Regions from separate parts of the Homo sapiens genome. Here all the other regions are linked to region 6. The links are contacts of gene promoters, found by promoter capture Hi-C in blood cells and fetal thymus (Javierre and others, 2016). All regions are on one chromosome and are shown on one strand. The core of a region is centred on a gene start or on the middle of the fragment in contact, and the rest is flanking DNA. Distances in the headings are between cores, read along the strand shown.

Region 1 (3,354 bases), core at 74-2,573, 5.4 Mb after region 6:
AGTCAGGCCACAAGTCAAGGGCAAAACTTAGTCACTCAATTTTATATTAAGTGTATTTTTATTGTGAATGTGTTTTATTTATTTTCTCATTAAAAAGTAATTGTTAGTTCACTATCCCTAATACATGTAACAGAAAACATGAAAGTCCCCAGCGGTAGCTCAGAAAGATCAGTCATAGCTTTACTCATATGATTTTCAATTTTAAAACATGTTTTATTAAGTGAACATACAAATACAGTGTATAAAATTTTACCTATGAATATATATTTGAGTACTTACTGAGGCCAGACACTGCTGCATTTATGAATATTAACTCATTTATTTATCATAAACTCAAGAGGTGTATACTTGTGTTTTGTCCATAAATTACTCCCCATTCCGGACTAATTGCGTTTGCTTAACCATCATCATTTCCACCTTCTCTTTCTTCTCCCATTCCACTGTGGATCATTTAATTCTCCTGGGAAATAAAGCTGTCTAGGTCTTCCTCTCTTCTCTTTCTAAGTTGTTGTTACTGCTCAAATTCTGCATAGTATCTCTTTCAATGTCTTACTGCTCATTTTTCAAGTTTTCTCCCACCTCAATTGCTAGCATGACTCAAAAAATTCCAGCCCTTGCATATAAAAAATTTAGAATTTGAAAGTCTTTTTGCTCTTCAGCAGCAAGAAAATTTTGCTTTAGAAGCCAAAAACAACATAGACTGGTCTTCCCCTTTGGATTTCTGCTGTAAATTACCCCGATTATACTTGAGTAATAGGAATGACTTTAACGCTCATTCAGAAATAAAACACAAAAGAGTCAGGAAAAACATCACAAAGATTAGTATTTCAATATATCTTATTACATAGGTATTCCATGTACCAATAAAAATATAATGAAAATAGGTCGGGCGCTGTGGCTCACACCTGTAATCCCCACGCTTTGGGAGGCCAAGGCGAGCAGATCACCTGAGGTCAGGACTTCGAGACCAGCCTGACCAATATGATGAAACCCCATCTCTACTAAAAATACAAAAATTAGCCGGGCATGGTGGCATGCACCTGTAATCCCAGCTATTCGGGAGGCTGAGACAGAATTGCTTGAACCCGGGAGGCAGAGGTTGTGGTGAGCCGAGATGGCACCATTGCACTCCAGTCTGAGAAACAAGAGCAAAATTCCATCTCAAAAAAAAAAAATAAGAATAATAATAAATAATGACAATAGTTGTAAATATATTAGCCATGTGCCTATTATATTTACTAACATTATTTTATTTAAATTCTCCTGTAACTTCCTTTTCTTTTAGTTTTTTTAAATTTTAATACAATTTCTTCTTTGTGCTTTTTTATAACACCTATGTCAGCTATTACATTATGCTTGACCTTATAGCTTGACCCTGTTTTGACTTATATAAACTTTGACTTGAAAATTAAACCAAGCATTTCACATATGTCATTATACTAGAGTACTGTAATTTTTAAATTTTTGGAGGATTCACAATGAAGGGTACATCATAGTGTGGATTGCATTTACCAATCCTCTAATAAATTTGAATTTACTCATAGTTAAGTACTTTCCACAGCTCATAGCCAAAGAAAAGTTCATGGTTCTTAACCTTCTTCTGCTTTATGTATAACCTCGCTTCTCATCCGTTGCTTTTGTTTGTGATAATATATTATTCTTCCTTCTTCATATACTATTCAGAAGTCAATACTATTAACTGCATACCACATTCTAAAAACAGGAGTCACATTGAAGTACATTTATCCTAGAATAAAGAACAAAAGTGGAAGTTCCAGCAAAGTTTTTTTCTTGTTTCTTAAATTTGGGTTATAAGCAAATTATTAATTTTAAATAAGTGGTATAATTAAACCCGTCTGTCAAACAGAAGCATTATTATTTTGTGGGCTATGTTATAATAAAAGATGATAATAAAAATAATAATATAATAACACAAATATCAAGATACATTATTCTGCCTAGGGCTATTGTTCACCAATACTGTTCAGAGAAAAAGATATTTTCTTTTCTGCAACATACGTGTTTGTGTTGGCTCCCTTTACTACTTAAGGATCGTCTCTGAACAAACATAATTTATTGTTATAAGCATTCAGATGAGGATAAAAGAGAAACAATGTCATTTGTGGCAGCGTCTTGTTTTCATTTTTTTATTTTATTCTTTAAAAGCACTTAAGTTATATTTCCTATCTCACATCTCCATTATCCAAAAACCTGGACAGCTCTAGTGCTATAGCACATTGCTTCCTTTGGCATTTAAAGTAGCTTGTTTCCTCATATTTGCTTTGTTAGTGAGTTTACATTTTCCATGCCTCATCTGGGTCTTCATCTTGGGTTGAGCATATATCCTTTCAAAGAGATTTGTACTTGCTTCTGCCAGGTACCCTGGACTACTTAGTTTCTTAGTAGTAGTTTCTCTGGTTGAGATGCCCTGGAATTCACAGAGAATGTAAATTTGAAGGCCAAACTGGTATAATAAAGAGGGAGTCATTTATTGGCTCGCATTATGGGGGATTTTAAGAAGCTGACTTGCTTCAGGTAAGGAATTCTACGTCTCCATCAGTCTGCTTTGCTTCCTATAAATTGGTTTTATTCTTAATGAGGCTTTTACTGGGATACTGAAGATTTTTTGTTAGACTGGGCATAGCAATATCCTCTAAAGGAGTCATAATCCTTGAACAATGATTATCCAGGAGAATATGGTACCATGACTGAATTGTGTGGCATGTGTGTCATAAATGAAGGCAAGGCCATGGAATCGACAACCTCATGAGCTCCGTTGATAGAAAAAAAGCATGTATACATAGTGGATGCTGGCAGTGTTTCCAGGTAAGGGGATAGTATAAGGTAGATAAGGCCACCAGGTAGCCCATGAGAACAAACACCCAGTCGAAGCCTCTGCATTCTAGTACTGACTCCACTTTCCAAAGTCATTTGTGAGATCAAACTTAATACTTGGCGAGAGATCTTTTAAGAGTGATGGAAATGTCCTAAAACCAGATCACATGGTTGTTTAACTCTTTAAATGTACTAAAAGTGTTAAATTTGTCCTAACAACAGATGAATTTATGGTATATAAATTATATTTCATTAAATCTATTTTAAAAACAAGGAACAATTCTAAAGAAAATCATCTCTCCACCCCAGCTTCCTGAGTTTCCTCATTCCCCCATTTACCCTGAGCCTCGGTGATTTATATTTAGATGTTAGTTTAATTCTCCGGGATGTTCATTTTCATTCTCATCCATCCAGATATCTCTATTAGTCAAAATTATTAGACTGGTTGGCCTTTCCAGTAGATTTCTCCCTTTTTAATTATGTATCAAATAATTTTCTTAATATTGCTAGAATATCTAT
Region 2 (3,298 bases), core at 368-2,867, 5.4 Mb after region 6:
AATTCTTGATAATACTATCTAAGAAGCCAGGACACAAAGGAATGTGCTCTGGAGACTCTCCCAGCATTCCCTCAACATAGCGAGGAGAAAAACAAATTTTCCTTTCTCTTATGGTATGAGTTTATAGATTCCTGCTCTCTGTAACTAGTGACTTCAAGTATTCTGTTTAACCTAAGCAGTGGAGTGAAGGTCATAAACCATCTGTGCAGGCCTGAGATAAGGCCACCTGGGCACCATAGTGAAAGTTATGGGATAAGCCTGTGCCTAGGCATAACCTAGATAACAGCCATCTGGGTTGCCTGGCAATGGTCATATGTAATTCCGAGTTATGCACCTGTCACAATTTGATTCACTGCCTTTGTTCTGCCTCTGTATCCTTGCTTTCACTTCATGCCACTGTAAGCCTGACTCAAGCTAGCCCACCCCCTTTTTAAAGTGTGTATAAATGTCAAGTGCTGTCTTTGTTCTGGGCCCAGTTTTTTGGATGTTATGTCCACTGGGTCTGAGTGCACTCAATAAAGATCCTCCTACTTTACCATGAGGTTTCTCTTGTCCTCCCGATTCCTGCAACACAGTGGCAACAGAGACCTTAGGCAATCTCACAAGGAAATTTGGAACTGGAATGGATTCACAAAGTTATCTCAGTTGAGGTGATGGGACCATCTTTTTCTTTCCTTAAGTAACATTGATCAGATATTTGTTACAGGCTGCCCTCAGGCAGAGGGCATAAACTTGAGAATGGCAATTGCCTTTAGGCTAGAACAACCCCTGAAGAGGGATTTACTTGTAGAGTTGTCAGAAGCCAATATACCCAATACATAGTAGAAATATTTTCTTCATTCTGAACAGGAAGCAGTTGGGGAATTTAGACCCAAATTTTCCTTCGAGGAAGAAATTGTTGTTGCAGTTACTTAGAATGCTTTTAGAAGAAAGCAGACAATCTAAGTTTTCAGTATCAGGAGGGATTAACTTAGGTTCAGGAAGTTTTATCACCTCAACTCATACCATTCCAGAGATACCCATAGCCAATAATTGAATGTGGTTGTGTTAGAGAGTCAGTATTTCTAGTAGAATATGGGAAATCTCAGATGGGTCATTTCAGCTCCAACTGTGCCTGTACAGTGGCGGAGACTGTCAGGATTGCGTTCCAACTCCACTTCTTCCAGTACCCAGTCTGACTTCTTTCTTCCTTCTGCTCCCTGAGAAACATTCTGCACTCTAAACTCTGAATCAGAAACCCTTTCCTACAAAGATCATAAATGGGTGCCAGGAGTTGTCTAAGAGTACAGGCAATGAGACAAAGCTTTGGAATGGAATCACTCACCATCTGGCTGGAAACAAAGACCCACTCACTGGTGTCAGTGAAACACATACAGTCCCTGAGATGAGGTAGCAGTACTATTGTTGAAATATTCACAGGTGTTGAATTAGAATATTTTATTATACTGACAGAAAGGGATGTGCTATCTGGTGCAATGTGTCAAGTATTTAAAAATTACAGATTAAAGATAAACTATGCAAAGTGAAAAGATTATGGGAGGACTGCCATTACCCTCACATCCTATTGTTCACATCCTTGTGTTATCCCTTCCCTTTCAGTGTAGATGGGACCTGTCACTTGCTTCTAAATATAGAATATGGCAAAGGTGAGAATATGCACATGATTACATGTATGTAATCATGTGATCTGTTTCATAAGATTGTAGCTGTCAAATTGCTACAGTCTCTCACTTTCATGATGTGAGGAAGCAAGTGGCTATGTTAGTAAACCTCATACAGCAAGGCCTGCAGGTGAGCCCTGGGAGCTGAAGGCATCCTTCTTCCAAGAGACAGTAAACATATTTGAAGCTCTCAGTACTACATCTGTAAGGAACTGAATGCTACTAACAACCATGCAAACAGGGAAATAGATCCTGTTCCAGTCAAGCTTCCAGCTGAGATTGCAGTGGAGCTTATATCTTGATTGCTAGCCTTGGAATACCCTAAAAAGGGAAACAAGCTAAGCCACGGCTGGATTCTTGACCCACAGAGGCTGTAAGAAAAAAAAATGTTGTTTTAAACTATATGCTAAGTCTGAGATAATATTGTCACACAGCAAAAGAAAGTTAATGCAGACAAAGGAATCACAGCTTTATTGCAAATCTAGATTAGATTGACACATTAGGGAAAGATAATACAAATCTAAGAGAGATGAGCTGTTAATTGAAAGCCTACCATGAAAACCAGGTTTTCTCATTGGTAACATACAGAGAGCCTGTTATGTCTTTCAAGAGGAGGGCAGAGAAAGTTGAGTATGAAATCAAATACTGATCAGAAAAGTTAGGCTCCAAGGAAGGTTTATGTCATAACCAAAGCAGATTACTATGCCAATAACAGAGTTTTGAATTGGAACAAATGGGACCCTGACACATGAATGGAAAAATCTGGGTTTATGACTCTAAATTCTTAAATTTTTATATTTTAATAAAAACTCTGAATCTGCCAAAGAAGACTATCACTCTCTATTAAGAGCTAGAATTGGCCAAGCACGGGGGCACACACCTGTAATCCCAGCACTTACGAAGGCCAAGGCGGGCAGATTGCTTGAGCTCAGGAGTTCAAGATGAGCCTGGGTAACATGGTGAAACCCTGTCTCTAAAAAAAGAATAGAAAAATTAGCAGGGCGTGGTGACCCATGCCTGTAGTCCCAGCTGCCCAAGAGCTGGAGGTGGATTGCCTGAGCCCAGGAGTTTCAGGCTGCAGTGAGCTGTGATTGTTCCACTGCACTCATGCCTGGGTGACAGAGTGAGAACCTGTCTCAATTAAGGAAAAAAATAAAAGAACTTTAATTATCACTTTACTTGAATGTGTGAGTAAATTATTTGGAGCACTGTCCCATGATTGATGAATTAACACCTAGCAATAATCTTAGGGAATAATCCAAACTTGCTGTCAGGATGACTCCATGAAACATAGAAAAAATATTGATCTCCACACTATGGAGTGTCAAAGTGTCAGAAATTATCTGGAAGCAGATAATGATTGGAGTAAAGGACACAAGAAAGTGGGAGAACCAGAATGGATATCATAACTAAGACACAAAAACCCACCAGATGATTATGTTCCAAGTAAGGTCCAGAGCATACACCATGTTAGAAAGCCAAAAAGGAGGTCTGGTGAGAGAAACACCAGCATCACTGAGAAGTTCAGGAGTGGTTCTGCTGTGCTAAAATTTAACACAATGGACAAGTGCAAAATTAAAGTAAATATAGGTGTCACAACAGTGTCCTGCCATTTCTCTAGAATTTGGTCCCTCAAA
Region 3 (3,613 bases), core at 408-2,907, 5.3 Mb after region 6:
AATGACGCTTTTTTGAGCTGGGGAGACATAAAATGTTGGCAAGCCTTTGTCCTAGTAATCAATTTTTCTATAATGAAGTGCTCAAAATATTTGTAGCTTAAAAAGCAATCACTTCACTACTTGTCAGAATTTTGTGGGTTAGAAGTTCAGGCAGAGATTAGGCACTTATTGTGTTTCTTGTGACATTGATGGATGTCACCAATGTTCTTCTACTGGCAGAAGAGATGTTCTTTAGAGTTCAATACAGCTTCACACAGATGTCTTTAGCCTTGATGAGGTTGGCTGGAAGGATTAGCTCTGCTGAAACTCTGCTGAAATAGTGTCTAAACTGACCCTCCATGAGGGTGATCTCAGAGAAATCAAGCTTCTCACAATCTAGGTCTTGACTCCCAGAGGGAAGGTTTCAAGAGGCTCATGCACTAGCAAGACGCGATCTTATGACCTAGCATTGAAATTACCACAACATTATCTACCATATTATAATAACCAAGAATGTCATCAAATCTAGCTAAGATTCAAAAGGAGAGAAATTAGGGTCCACCTCTCAACAGAAAGAGCAGCAAAAAATTTGCTATCTTTTCTAATCTGCCTACTGGAAAAAAATTTACATATATAACTATAATAAATAAAATACATTATATATAATGATCACTTATACATTATAAATTATTACAGTATACTACACATTATACTATAATTATTACAATTATACATTATAAATTATTATAATATACTATATATTACAATATAATTATATTGTAATATTTTATAACACATAAATGATCATAGTATGTGTAATATGTAATTATATATTACACTATAATTATAATTTATAATATAAAATTTAATAATTTAAATTTCTTCCACTTTAAAAGATACTATCATCCTTTCTTAAGTACCTTAAAAGTCATATCTAATTATGGAACCAGATGCAATACCAGGATCTCAAAACTTTTAAACAGATTCAGGTTTTCTCACTGTTTTCCTCTCAACTTGAAGTCGTGTGAACAAGGAAGTAGTTATCTTCCCCCATATACTCAATATAAAAAGATGTGACAGAGACAGAGTGAATGCAATAAATCCTCCTGTTCAAAAAAGAAAGACATAGGAAGCAATAGTAAGTGATCTACCACATTTCTGAAATCTAGCAAGAATCATGTTTCTAGAGCCTTGAATGGAAAGAATTGCAGGCTCAGGGCTGCTTCCTGGGAATGCTCCTTTACATCTCCTGCCCCTGCCCTCCGAGATCTCAGTTTCTCCGGAGTCCCACTTTTACATAACAAATCACTCATGTTTACAGCTGCATGGTATTTTCAGCCTATGACTTGCCTGTAGAATAAGGACTCTTCTTATTTTGAATTGTCTCTGTGCTTCTGCCAGGAAAAGTGTTTTATAAAAATATTAATTTTTCTGTGACTCTTATCTGGGTTTGGTTCATTAAATAAATGCCGAACCACAAAACTCCGAATTTAGTCCTTATTTGCCTTGGGCTAAGAATCATGAGGTTGTTGGCGGTGTGCTTAAGAGTTTTAGGAAACTTGTTATCTAGTCAAGAATATCTATGGGACACACACTTCAACCTTTCTGAATTCTTAGTTTTAAAGCCTCAAAGTTAAGATAATTTTGCCCCGAAGTTATTTCTCCCTTTAAGAACATTTTTTGGGGCATGTCAAAACAGGCTGTGAAAAAGAAATTATTTTATTTTCAAATCCTTCAATTCTTGATTCCATGATATTTCTTTTCATTGTGCTTGAAAACTAAACAGTTGCTGTCATGGCTCATTTCTTTGTCCTGGCTATTTCATTATTTCTGGCTGAAAGAAAATGGCCAGCACTTCCGACATTTTGACTGAAAATTTCCTCAAGAAAATAAATGAGGTTCATTTTTATATTTGCTACACTACCTTAAGTGACAGTGCTGACCCTACAAAATAAAGATTGTTGACAGAGTGCCTAGCTGTGGCCTCTTTAGCATGGCCTTCTTGGGATAGTTGACTTTCTTAGAGTTGAACTCAGGGCCCTCAGGGTAAGTATTCCTATTGGTTTGCTTGGAATTTCCACAGCTTCTTTTTAATTGGAATTTCCACAGCTTCTTTTAACTAACCTGAAAAGTCCCAGAATTCTAACTTTCACTACATTAAATTTTTCGAATACGTAATTAAGTCGTGCCTATATTCAATGGGAAGGAATTTAGAGTTCACCTAGTAGATGGGAAAAGTACCAAAGAAGTGCAAGTAAGCCTCTGGCTAAGAGCAGGTCTTCCTCCAGGGATCCAGAAACCACACCCAGCACCTCAGAAGCTCGGCCCAGTTCAGTACCAGGATTCAACAATGTACGTATTTGAATAATTCTGAAATATATTTTTATTTGAGTCATCCACAGAGATTTCCAACCAAGTGATTTTTGTGAGAAATAGGTACCAACTTATATTTCACACAGGTTAAAATGTATTACCCCTATACAGAATTAAATATTAAATATGGACTACTTTGGTGAGTACAACTCTAACAATTTTAGCTTAGAAGAAAGTGCATCCCTTATTACTTTGTTTCATATAAATGTTATTTAAAATTAAATTAATTTTTTGCTCCTAATAAAATACTCATACATGGTGAATATTCTTTGTCTTAAGTGCTTGGGACCAGAAGTATTTTTGAGTTTTTTGGATTTGGGAATATTTGCATATGCATAAAGTGATGTCTTGGGGATGGGATCCAAGTCTGAACACAAAAATTCATTTATGTCTTATATACACATAGTCTGAAGGTAGTGTCATACAGTATTTCAAATAATTTTGTGCATGAAACCCAGCACATGAGTACAAGTTTTGACTGAAACCCAGCACATAAAGTGTGGTTTTTCTACTGTGGCATCATGTTGGTGCACAAAAAAATTCTGATTTGGGAGCATATCAGTGTTTAGATTTTTGAATAAGCAATGCTCAAGCTTTATATACCCAGGTGCTGTCTTAAGGTTTCAAATATTTACCCATGTAGTCTTCACATATGGGTTGGTACAATTAGTGTATACATCATACAATTCATGAAAATGAGGAACAAAATAGTGTATCGCAAATATTTCATAGTTGTGCAAAGATTGATGAGTTGTAAGGACAGTATTTTTGTAGAAAGCAATATTCTAACAAAATATACTTTTCACTTACACTATGTAACATATGTTTATGGGTATTGGAATTTAATGTAATTTTTACTTAAAATTTTCCTAGCGATATTAAATAAGAACAAATATAAAAGCATAAGCCCTCCTATTTTTCTTTCAGATCTAATTCAGTTCCATTAAAACTGCTATTTAGTCTTGTAGTAAGGCAAGATTTCTAAGGTTTATTTAAATTTAGAAGAGCTTATAAGATAATTTAAGATATACATGATATTGAGAGTCATGGTAAAATGTATAATGCTTTGAATAGCTAATAGTTTTCTTGCAGAAATGGCGTGTGCTGCAGTTTGTTGAGAAAGACAATTTAATCTAAAAAAATACTCAAGTATGTATTTAACTGGGGAATATAACATCAATACAGTTCACCATCTGATTTATTGTATGCAAGCTTAAGGTCAAACTTATTTAATATTATTTTTCTTCTGAGAATGAGCCTG
Region 4 (3,701 bases), core at 341-2,840, 5.1 Mb after region 6:
CCCTTGTCCACCTCACAAGGCATGTGATGTGGTGTGGCTCACTTCTTCAGTGCCCTGCTGTTCAAACCTGTATGGGAACATACAGATGGGCAGGCTGTGGGGCTCCGACCCCATGGCAGTGTCTAAGGGGTGAATGTTTACAGCTCCTGAAGCCCCACTGGGCGTGTGTTACAGGATGCTCTTTTAGTTTTGCGCGTTTAGTTTTGCCATCTATAGGCGGCTTATGTTAACCAGCTCAATTAGACCCTCTACCTTGTCACAAGGACAGAGGGCTTTCTGTATCCCGGGTCCTTGCCTTGATGTACCTGGAGAATCAGATCACACCTGGGCTTGGAGAATGAGTGCAAGGTTTTATTGAGTGGAGGCAGCTCTCAGCAGATGGGGGAAACCAAAAGCAGGATGGAGTGGGAAGGATTTCCCCTGGAGTTGGGCTGTTCAGCGGCCTAGGCTGTCCTCTGACTGCCCCAGCAAAACTCTGTGTTGTTCTGCTGCTTGATGGCCTGCCTGCCAGCATCTGTTGGTGTGCTCTTCCGCCTCCACGTCCAGCTTCTGGTGTCTTCTTCCTTCAATCCACTCATCTCGAAGTCCAGCTGCTTGTGTGTCTGCCTACTAGGGCCTCGGGGGTTTTTATAGGCACAGGATGGGGGCACCGCAGGCCAGGGTGGTCTTGGGAAATGCAACAAAAATGCTTGTCCTCACCTAGGTCTGTTGGGGTGGAGCCCTAGGCAAGGACCACTTTCTCCTCTACCCAGCACTTCCCTTCCCCACTTCCGGATCATTTGAAGGGACCACACTCTTCTCTCCTCAGCTCTCCCATATCAGTAAGATGAAATTCTCAAAAAGCTTCCACAGCCACAGGAGTCCCTACACCTGGCTGAAATATGTCTTTGATTGTTTATTCACCTTGAGAGATCCCCAGACACATCCCTTGGGAGTCTGAAAATTGATTGCCAATGACTGCTGCAGTTGCCCTCGCATTGAAGGTGAAGAGTGAAAAGATATTATGGTAATGAGTTAGAATTTTCTGTAGTGTTATAGAAACTTCCCTCTCCATCTACTAATGGTGTAATCTAAACATTTTATATTAACGAATGTACATGGATTTCACTGTCTACACTAGGAACTGAAAAGATGAAATGTCTTCAGAGACCATGCTTTCCCCTTTCCCTGTGTTTCCTTTTCCTCACACATTAAAACAGTGTTGTTGACTGGGCGCGGTGGCTCACACCTGTAATCACAGCACTTTGGGAGGCCAAAGTGGGCGGATTACTTGAAGTCAGGAGTTTGAGACCAGCCTGGCCAACATGGTGAAACTCCATCTCTACAAAAATACAAAGATTAGCTGGGCATGGTGGCTGGTGCCTGTAATCCCAGTTACTCGAGAGGCTGAGTCAGGAGAATCACTTGGACCCGGGAGGTGGAAATTGCAGTGAGTGGAGACTGCGGCATTGCACTCCAGTCTGGGCGACAGAGCAAGACTCTGTTTCAAAACGACAACAACAACAACAACAACAGTATTGTTGTATTTCTAGGCATATCTCAGAGAATACCTGGAGGCTCCTTGGGAAAGAAACCCGAAGGTACACTAAGTTATTTTTAAAAATTTATTCATTGCTTTTGTGTTTTATAAAGTATGAAACAACAAAATTAGAATGAGAAGGATTCACTTTATCTTCCTAAAATGTTGCCTTTTGAAGTTGAGGCTCTTGACTTCACATAACAAGGATGAGTTATCTCTTTTATTAGAATAGCTCATCTTCTTGTCTGCTCAGATATATTTGCACTTGACATGATTTTTTTTGTAACCATTTTCATATGGAGTCAGCTGTTTTCATTGTGATCTAAACAGAAATTTAAAGAAGAAATTTTCAGAGAGGTGTGTCAATGTGTGGTTGTCTAATACCTGCAGAGAAAACTTTATGTTCTTACTATCGACTTTGACATGGTAATGTGGAAAACTGCAAGACCTAAACTTTCAAAACTACCTATTTTCATATGGAAGTGCTCACCACTAAAAAACTTCAATATAGGTAATCTAATATATCTAAATTAAACCTTACAGTTATACATATCACATAAACTCAGATTTTTTTGTGGTGGGGACAATAGGCCATAGTACTTTAACCTTTAGATGATTTTTGCACTGAATTTATCTTCTTAGAGGTATGAATGTTCTTTCTCTATAGTGGCTTTGTGTAGGCATCACTGTAAACTGGATATGGTGCAAGTTTATTAGAGTCTTTGCCTAGATATTCAGACTTGTAATGTTGGCTGGAGGACAAGAATTGCATACTCCTATGTTGGGAAAACAGTCATCATCAAACTAGGAAAGCTTAACATTTTCATCTTTAGTGAACTCTGATATGTTAGTCTTAGATATGATTAGTGCACAAGCTAGTTCTATCTCTGCCCATGTTTGAATATTACACACACGTACACACACATACACACACACACGAGCTATTCAAGTAAAGGAGATGAGTCATCCTTATGAAGTCAAGAGCTTCAACTTCAAAATGTGTGTGTATGTGTGTGTGTGAGACACACACACACAGAGAGAGAGAGAGAACTGGGCAAACCTGATATGTTGATGTTAGATGTGAGAAGTGCATATCTGACTCTGGATGTATAGTTCACACGCATGCATATTGGGTAGCACATTTAAATAAGGTGTGAAATACTTTCCTGGATGCAGACAGCTCTTGTGTGTTGATAATGATAAAGTATTGTGGCCAGATGGTGCTTTAGAGAGATAATTCATACATACAAACACTCTAGAGAGTGGATTCAGATTTACCTTGACTGTCTGTGCTTGAATAGGCAAGAAGGTTACAAAGTAACTTAGGTTATATGCAGTGGAGTTCTTGTTTAGCACAGAACAGCATTTCAGAGGGTTTTCTGTGGAATTCTATATCTACAGGATGTAAAGAGAGAGGTTACTTTAAAAACTGTTCTCTGGTAAAGCATACTTGTAAAAAGTAGGATAAACAAAGCTGAACACTTATTCACTGAAAGATTGTTCAGAACCCTTGTTTTGTGGGTTGTGATTTTCCATGGATGGAATATAGTAGGCTCCATTTCCCAAACTTATTTAGTCCTGACCCTCTTTTTGCATAGAAATCTTTAAGAGCTAAAAAAAAAATGGGCATATGACAGAGAAAATACCAAAAAGGATTTCTCTTAGTGATTTTTTTTAAATTAATGCAGTATTGCAGTATGTTTACTGTCAAGATTTTTTGGGTGTGTTGGAGATCTACTAACTGTTTGACAGGATAATTTCAAAAGAGAGAAAAAGAATATTTAAATAACCATGAAGAAATATAAACCTAGTTTTCCGTATAAGCACTCTGATTTGCCTCATTATTCATTATTTAAAAAATAATTGTTGTTAGATACCATAAATTCATGCAAAATATATGTTTGAATTTATGAGTTGGCAATTCAACTGTGTAGTGTAACTTATTCAAGTTACACATCTATAAGACTAGATGATGTATATTTTTTGCATTGCACTCTTTGCATCTAGCATAATGGGATGATTTTTAGTCATTTCTAAAATATTTGATTTTTCTTTGTATTTTCTCATTGAATTATAAGTACTGTATTCTAAGGATTTTAATGAAATGAAGGCACATTAAAATCATAATCCATGGTAATTCAATGCAAATCACAATTCCTTTGACAATTATTTCTACTATTGA
Region 5 (3,405 bases), core at 160-2,659, 5.2 Mb after region 6:
TTATTAATAAGAATATTAATCTCAATATATTAAATTTCCAGATTGATTGCTTTTGATATAGATAAGAATTCGTTTGGTTAAGGATTAATATTATATACTTGTTTCATTATATTATTAATTCAATGACTATGTTCTTCATTCTATGATTTATGTTTTTATGCCCTCATTTCTTTCATTTCTGTGTGATTTTGCTCCATTATTTCTTGCTATTTACTTCTGTGGGTAATCTCAATATATTTTTACTTAAGTATCTTAAATTATTTTATGATATTACTCTTTAAAGTTATTTGTTAATTATCTAGTTGTTTATTTGTGATGGCTGCCTTGGGAGAGTTGAATAATTTTTCTAACATATCTAATTTAGAATTTTGGTGTGCAGTATCATTTTGAGTGGGATGGCTTATCTTTGGTTTTATAGTTGTCTCCCCTCAGTTCTCTGAGGCCTTCAGTCTAGAACTAAAGCTTGTATGATGAACTCAGATACCTTGCCCCAGAGTGATAGTGAAGATATCTTGGATTCTGCCAAAAAGCCAGTAGGATATGTCAGTTCTTGATTTGAGAACTATACGAACATACACAAACACAAATGAACACACACAGGTACATATTATTCCACATATTTTAGTCCTTTTGGACTGGTATAAGAAAATAAATGTGCTCTCTTGTTATGTTCTCACATGGCAGAAGGCAAAAGGGATGTCTTTTGGATCTCCTATAAGGATATTAATCCAGTTCTTGAGGGCCCTGACCTCATAATCTAATCATCCCTCCAAAGGCCCTATGTCCTCATTCTAATGTGGTAGAATTTGAACATACAAATTGGGAGGTGGGGACATAAACATTCATAATGTGTGTTTGTGTGTGTGCATGTGTGTGTGTGTGTGTGTGTGTGTGTAATCTGTGTTCAAATCTCTCACATCACTTCATTTAAATCTAAGTTATATCCCAAGGAGGCAATCAACAATGTAATATTTAGCCTTATATTAGGAGCAAGCAGATTACACCAGTCATTGTTTTCAAGCAACTAATCCTTTACGTGACTACCTTTCCTAATTCTGTAGTAATTAAAACATGATGTGGTTCTCTCTATTGGTCTCCAGGCATAGAGTTCAATAGGCTGGTGGCTTTAACTATTCGCAGTTTTTTATTTCTATTTTATTTATGCTTCTCAAATGTATTTACAAACTTTATTTTTTTTTTCTCTTTGGTATTTTCCTCTTACTGCCATATAATTTTGATGTAAAATTTTAATATAGTGTATAAACAGGAAACCAAATGGATTCCAATGTAAATCATACTTTATGCTGTTATTTATTTAATTCATCTATTTACTTAAAGTTGATCATCTTCCAGAAACATTTTAATGTGGCTTACAAAGCTGTATTAAATGCAACACAAACAAATAATCTAAAATTGATAGGCAAACAGAGGAAATAAAGAAGGGAAAAAAGAGAGAAAAGGAGTAAGAAAGAATAAGGGAGAGAAAGATAAAGTAGCAGAGAAAGAAAAGGGGAAACATTAAAATGAATAATTATCTATGAACTTGATATAACTCAAAATGATTAGTTAGAAAAAATAGGGTAAATTACACACCTCAAAAGGTCAATGAACTAAAACCAAACTGATAGTATCTTAGCCTATTGCTTTCTTTAGACAGTAAAAATAAAGCGTGACTCTAGTCCCAAATGCCATGCAGAGGTTTAAAAAGAATACTTTCAGATAGTAAGGGGCTCTGATTACGTATTTTATTCTATTCTTCCTTAATTTGGGGAATAATTTATTTTCAACTTCACAAAAATTGTGAAATCTTCATATTCCTTACTTGATGTTTCACAGGACAGCCTACGTTGTCCAGTGGAGGCAGCCTTCCCATTCCAACGGACATTTGTGGGATATTAGAGACCAAGAAGTGTTAAGAGATGATCTTCACAAAATGCTGAGCTTGTGTGGGTGTCGAACTACAAACAGGAGGAGATGGATATTCACATGCAGTGGTGGAGGGTTATGGCTCTCCAGCCTGGAGGATTGGAGCTTGAGCCAGGTGAACAGTGGGTCCATTAAAGGGGCAGCTCAGTTCAGCAAGTCAGAGCCTGAACAGGATGAAAGGGGCAACCCACAAAGATGAGGACTGAATTGGAGTTACAGATCCCAGTTGGTTGGAGAGACCATTTTCCTGGAGGATGACCCAGTTTGGGAGTCACAGCCAGAGCTGGGATAAAAGATAATCCACACTCTTTTGGATATAATATGTATTATAATTTCTTTTTTCTCTCAAGTAGTTTAAAAGTTTTACACTGTTTTCATTAGTCACTAATAGAAACATATACAATAGTTTTCTGCATTCCATCAAGCTTAATATTAACAGATATGTTTACCCATCTCCTGAACATTACAAATATCTTAGAATATTAACCTCTCTTAGGATTAGTTCTATTCAAATGCATGGATTACTTTGCTGTGTAATTCCAAGACTCCATGATATTGATAATACTCTATAATAAAGTTAAATTTTCTCAGATTTATCCACATATTTACCACTTTCTTTGATCTTTAGACTAAAGCAATTTTAAATACCAGGCTTACTTTTCTTTATTCTAAGCTGGAAATGCATTTTTTTTGTAGATTTTCAGTAATCCCTTGTTATATCATTAACTCTTTGATCCGTTTTAACATGCAGTTTTCATCCATCCTTTTTTTGTTGTTATCTTTGAGAGAATTGATCATAGTGACTAAGCTGCAATACTAAATTAGAGGAGTTTTAAATCTTAATATAACTTTGGCATAGTAAAATAATTTAAACAATAAAATGAGTTCATATTGTATGCTTGCATCTTAGCCTTTGACATTACTCCTGTTTTAATGATGAAACTTTACCTTGAAATGTCGCTAGTTTTTATTTCTTTGTGTGTGTGTTTGTTTTATTGATCTTGCCAGTAAACATCATTAAACATACTATTTCAAACATTAAAATGTCTGCTGAAAGGCATCTGACAATTTAAAAGTCAGTGACAAATTACTGAACTAAAACTTAAGAGATGATATAAACATGTAGAACTGAGCCTAGAATTAGGGACTGCTTTTCTTATCCTCTGAAAAGGGCACTAAGAACCAGAGATGCTTAGCACCACTAACAACTTCAAGGTGCTAGAGCTTTTTTTTTTTTATAAAAAAAAAAAAAAAAAAAAAAAAGGGAATCCCAAGTCTTGTCAGTTTGAAGGCAGCTAGTAAATTTTCCATTTATTTTAAGTTAGGACTCAAAAGACTTCCCCATAAGTAAGGGTAACAGGTAGGTAGTGCTCTTACTAGAGCCTATATTATAGCAAGGCTTAAAATCATCTCATTTTGTGAAATTAAATTAAGGCAAGCCTTGATTTCTGGTTATACTGGGCACATGACACAAAGGAA
Region 6 (3,304 bases), core at 287-2,786:
GAGCTTAAGTATGTCAAGAGCCTTTAATGCCTAGGCAGCCCATTATAGAATGGGGAACACACAGGTTTAAAATAAATGCCCTTTATTCTTCCTGTAAGTTAGACCAAGTTATTCAATCATGTACTAAGACCTTCTCTGACAACCTTTATAGGTCATTCAGAAAATAAATTTTTGTTCCAAGTGAACTGTTCCTATGTTAATGCTTCAAACTTTACTCAGGTATCAGGCGTTAAGTACAAGCCATTACACAAACCTTTGTGGTTTACTGACTTTGAAAGATCAATCAAATATATTACTAGATAGTGCTTTGGGGGTCAGTATTTGAGAAATAAAGCTGTATTTTTTGGGGAGTCATTCCATCCAGTTCCCGTATGAAAACGAGAAACTTGTGAGGATTTAGTACAGAGCTGGAGTCGGAGAAATGAAATGCACGGGAAAAGACGAAAATCACAGGAAAGAAAGTTGGAATCAGCAGAAAGTGCCTAGGGGAAAGGAAGTGTTCCACAGCTTGGGAAACAGCTGCCTGGGACTCCTTCCAGCCCCTCGGAAGCAAAGTTCGCAGTGAGGTGGGCTGGAAGCGGGTTTTGCAGCAGCCGCGAGTCCGGGCTCAGGTTTCCAGGCGCGGCTGGAGCAGAAGTGCAGGGACCGCCACGATCCACCGCCGCGGCCGGTCCCGCTCCGCTAGAGGAGACTTCGCACGCGCAGCCGACTGGCCCGGGCTGACCGAGGGGACCCAGACGCTGCCACTTTCTCTTTCCAAGGCAGTTTCCGTGGCTCTGCATGTAGGAAGTGCTCCGATTAATTTTCTTTCCGGTCTCCGCAGAGATTCCAAATTCTGCGGTCCCCACCTTTCGCTGTACTCCCTCTCCGCCCTTCTTTCCAATGTCCCTGCCAGCAAAAGCCTCTATTTGCAGCACCGGGCATGTTGTCCGTTTAACGCGCTCCGGGGATCTGCTGGCTCGTGCTCCCAACCCAGGGGTGGCTATACGTCTCGCGCCTCTGTTCCTGGGTAGACTCCCCCATCTGTGCATTTTGGCCCCTTCACTTAGCAAAGAGATGTGCGAAGTGTGCGCCTGGAGACGAGCCGCCTCGGTGACCCCCATCCGCCCGCAGCGGTGGCCCTGGTTCCCCGGATCCGCGCCCGCGCCCTGCGGGTCTCCCGCGCCGCCCTTGCCCGCCGGACCACCCGGGCTCAGAGGGTCGCTCGCTTTCAGCGCCTGCGAGCGCCGCTTCCGCCCGGGCCTGGGGAGCGCCAGCGCGTCCCTCCCACGCCGGACCCTGCAGAGCATGCTCAGTGCACCTCATGGAACCCGGCTCTCCTGGGGCCAGGATCAGATTTCCGGGTTTTCGCTGCTGCCGAGGGGGCGCGGAGGAGGGGAGGCTGGGAGACAGTCAGCGCCTTGTTCCGCGCTCCCTCCCTCGCGCCGGGCTGCGGCCGCCCGCGCCGCAAGATGCAGGCCAATCAGAGCCCGGGGGCGGGGCCTGGGCAGTCACGCCCTCCCTCTGGGCTTATTGAGAGTTATATCAAGAAATTCAGTTCAGAGAGAGGAGAGGGAGAAGGAGAGAGGGGCAGAGGGGAAGGGAGAGAGGGAGAGCACGCGAGACGGAAAGGAGCGCCTCAGAGTCTCTGAAGCACGCAAGAGATAACCGATTAGGAATTTTTCGGGCAACTGTCACCCGGATAGCTGTCAGAGAATCATCATCACCGCAACTCTGACGTTTCCTACAAGAAGTTAGAGACTTAAGCAGTATTGGCATCGGATGGAAATGGTATGCATGCTGCTGTGGAAAATATCCCTGAGCTGAAGAAGTGCAACTATGTGTTGTGTGTGCTAAATGCCCAGAAGAACCCAGACCCAGTGGGTAAGAGAGACGAAATGTGGAGAGAATGACTAACGACAAATCCGTGAATTTGTTCTCTGGAGTTGCTAATTTGCCAGCCCGAAGCAACACATTTTACAAGGAGGAAACATTTTGCTGCTTCTGATTTCTCCCCAAACTGGTGCTACCAGATGCATGGCTTTCTATGTGTTGGAACAAATCATTCCTAACTGCAGCATACTGGGAAAGGGGAAAGGTTGAGGCAACTAACGTAAGTGTAAAGTTTCGCATGCACAATTGTAAATTCTGTGTTTAGATGTGTCCTCAGTGTAGGCGAAAGATGCTTGTAATTGGGTAGACGGTTGGGGCAGAGCTCACCTACTCGGCTGTATCTGCATCCCTACCTGCATCACTCTGCCGGAACTAATCGCGGGCATCAGCTACTGTGCAGCCTAATGCAGATAAGATTAGAGCCTGAGAACTGACCAGTCCTACTCAAGTAGGTAGCTGCCTGGAGCCTTGCACCCATTTAAACTGCAGTTATCTAAGCAGAAGCCTTTTTACCTGCATGATTGGGTTGCAGTATTTATGTGTGGCAAATGTTACTAATATTCTAACCAGAGATCAGGATTAAGAAATTGCATTTTTTTTCTCTTTTATGTTCAGTAGAAAATATTGTGATGTTACATGGGAATGTTAGCTGCGTTTCACTTATATCTCGGCACTCTCTTCCACCTCTAGGAAAATGAATCCTATATTATTATACATTTTTAAAAGTTTTAATGTGTTTATGAATCCTAATGAGGATAATTTGTCAATATGGAGAAAGGAGAGCAAGCTGTGGGCAAGAAATCTGAAGTCTTGTTGTTGTGCTTTTAGGCAATGAGGATGTGTAGAGGCCGGTGACTATTGCTTCTGATGCCGCTGCAGCGGCATGTCCGGATGCTCGTTTCCCAGTAAGATTGTATTAGAAGGCAGTTGAAGAACTGGGAGGAAAGAAAAAGATAGCCTTTTTAGAAAAGATAGGTGACTCAGTGGGGCAGAGAAGAAAACACATTTGACATGTGACAAAGCAATTAGCAGGAACCGTAGCTAAATACTTAGTGTTTTTCACTTGCACCTGAAAAGACTGAGGGAGGTAGGTTAGAGGCTAGGAGGAGGGTGAGACAGGGGGAGGGGAAGAGGAGAACAAGAATGCATGTTTTGAATTAAACAGTATTCTGAAAAACAACGTGCGTGAATATAGGTAAAAATAGCAGCTGTCCTTAATTCAAAAGTAGAAAATTTTATTTTCTCCCGGCAAATGCAACCAGCAGGAGATATTTAGTGTTTTTCTCCACAGAGTAAACTTGCAAACAGTGGCAGAGCAAACTGCCATGTTTACTAATGTTCAGGGGAAAATGTGTGGTGATATTTTGTGACGGTGTGTTTTTATTTACTGAAGAATAATATTGTCTATACAATTGTGTTGACAGCGGCTGTC

Evidence for each region. The method cuts DNA at HindIII sites, captures the fragments that hold promoters and counts their contacts. A CHiCAGO score of 5 or more calls a contact.
Region 1: a contact is called between a fragment that was not itself captured here and the fragment with the promoter of PCDH9 in region 6, in 1 of 17 cell types (total CD4 T cells). The highest score is 7.0, in total CD4 T cells.
Region 2: a fragment that was not itself captured here is called in contact with the fragment with the promoter of PCDH9 in region 6 in 3 of 17 cell types (monocytes, naive CD4 T cells and non-activated CD4 T cells); the score reaches 7.4 in monocytes.
Region 3: a fragment that was not itself captured here is called in contact with the fragment with the promoter of PCDH9 in region 6 in 1 of 17 cell types (M2 macrophages); the score reaches 5.9 in M2 macrophages.
Region 4: a fragment that was not itself captured here is called in contact with the fragment with the promoter of PCDH9 in region 6 in 2 of 17 cell types (M2 macrophages and M0 macrophages); the score reaches 11.6 in M2 macrophages.
Region 5: a contact is called between a fragment that was not itself captured here and the fragment with the promoter of PCDH9 in region 6, in 1 of 17 cell types (total CD4 T cells). The highest score is 5.1, in total CD4 T cells.

Annotation. Positions count from the first base shown.
Region 1 is chr13:61,853,479-61,856,832 of GRCh38, reverse strand. No RefSeq gene overlaps it. Among named protein-coding and RNA genes, the nearest start is that of LINC00358, 170 kb to the left of the region's middle. The HindIII fragment of the contact is 9,273 bases long and covers 1-3,354 here.
Region 2 is chr13:61,872,380-61,875,677 of GRCh38, reverse strand. No RefSeq gene overlaps it. Among named protein-coding and RNA genes, the nearest start is that of LINC00358, 160 kb to the left of the region's middle. The HindIII fragment of the contact is 624 bases long and covers 1,306-1,929 here.
Region 3 is chr13:61,888,194-61,891,806 of GRCh38, reverse strand. No RefSeq gene overlaps it. Among named protein-coding and RNA genes, the nearest start is that of LINC00358, 140 kb to the left of the region's middle. The HindIII fragment of the contact is 2,581 bases long and covers 367-2,947 here.
Region 4 is chr13:62,112,309-62,116,009 of GRCh38, reverse strand. No RefSeq gene overlaps it. Among named protein-coding and RNA genes, the nearest start is that of LINC00358, 85 kb to the right of the region's middle. The HindIII fragment of the contact is 1,489 bases long and covers 846-2,334 here.
Region 5 is chr13:62,002,942-62,006,346 of GRCh38, reverse strand. It overlaps LINC00358 (long intergenic non-protein coding RNA 358), which reads left to right. Exons shown (of 2, transcript NR_046995.1): 2 at 1,837-2,822. Among named protein-coding and RNA genes, the nearest start is that of LINC00358, 25 kb to the left of the region's middle. The HindIII fragment of the contact is 1,889 bases long and covers 465-2,353 here.
Region 6 is chr13:67,228,568-67,231,871 of GRCh38, reverse strand. It overlaps PCDH9 (protocadherin 9), which reads left to right and starts at 1,536. Exons shown (of 5, transcript NM_203487.3): 1 at 1,536-2,092; 2 at 3,297-3,304. RefSeq lists a silencer at 1,126-1,265. The HindIII fragment of the contact is 4,939 bases long and covers 1-3,304 here.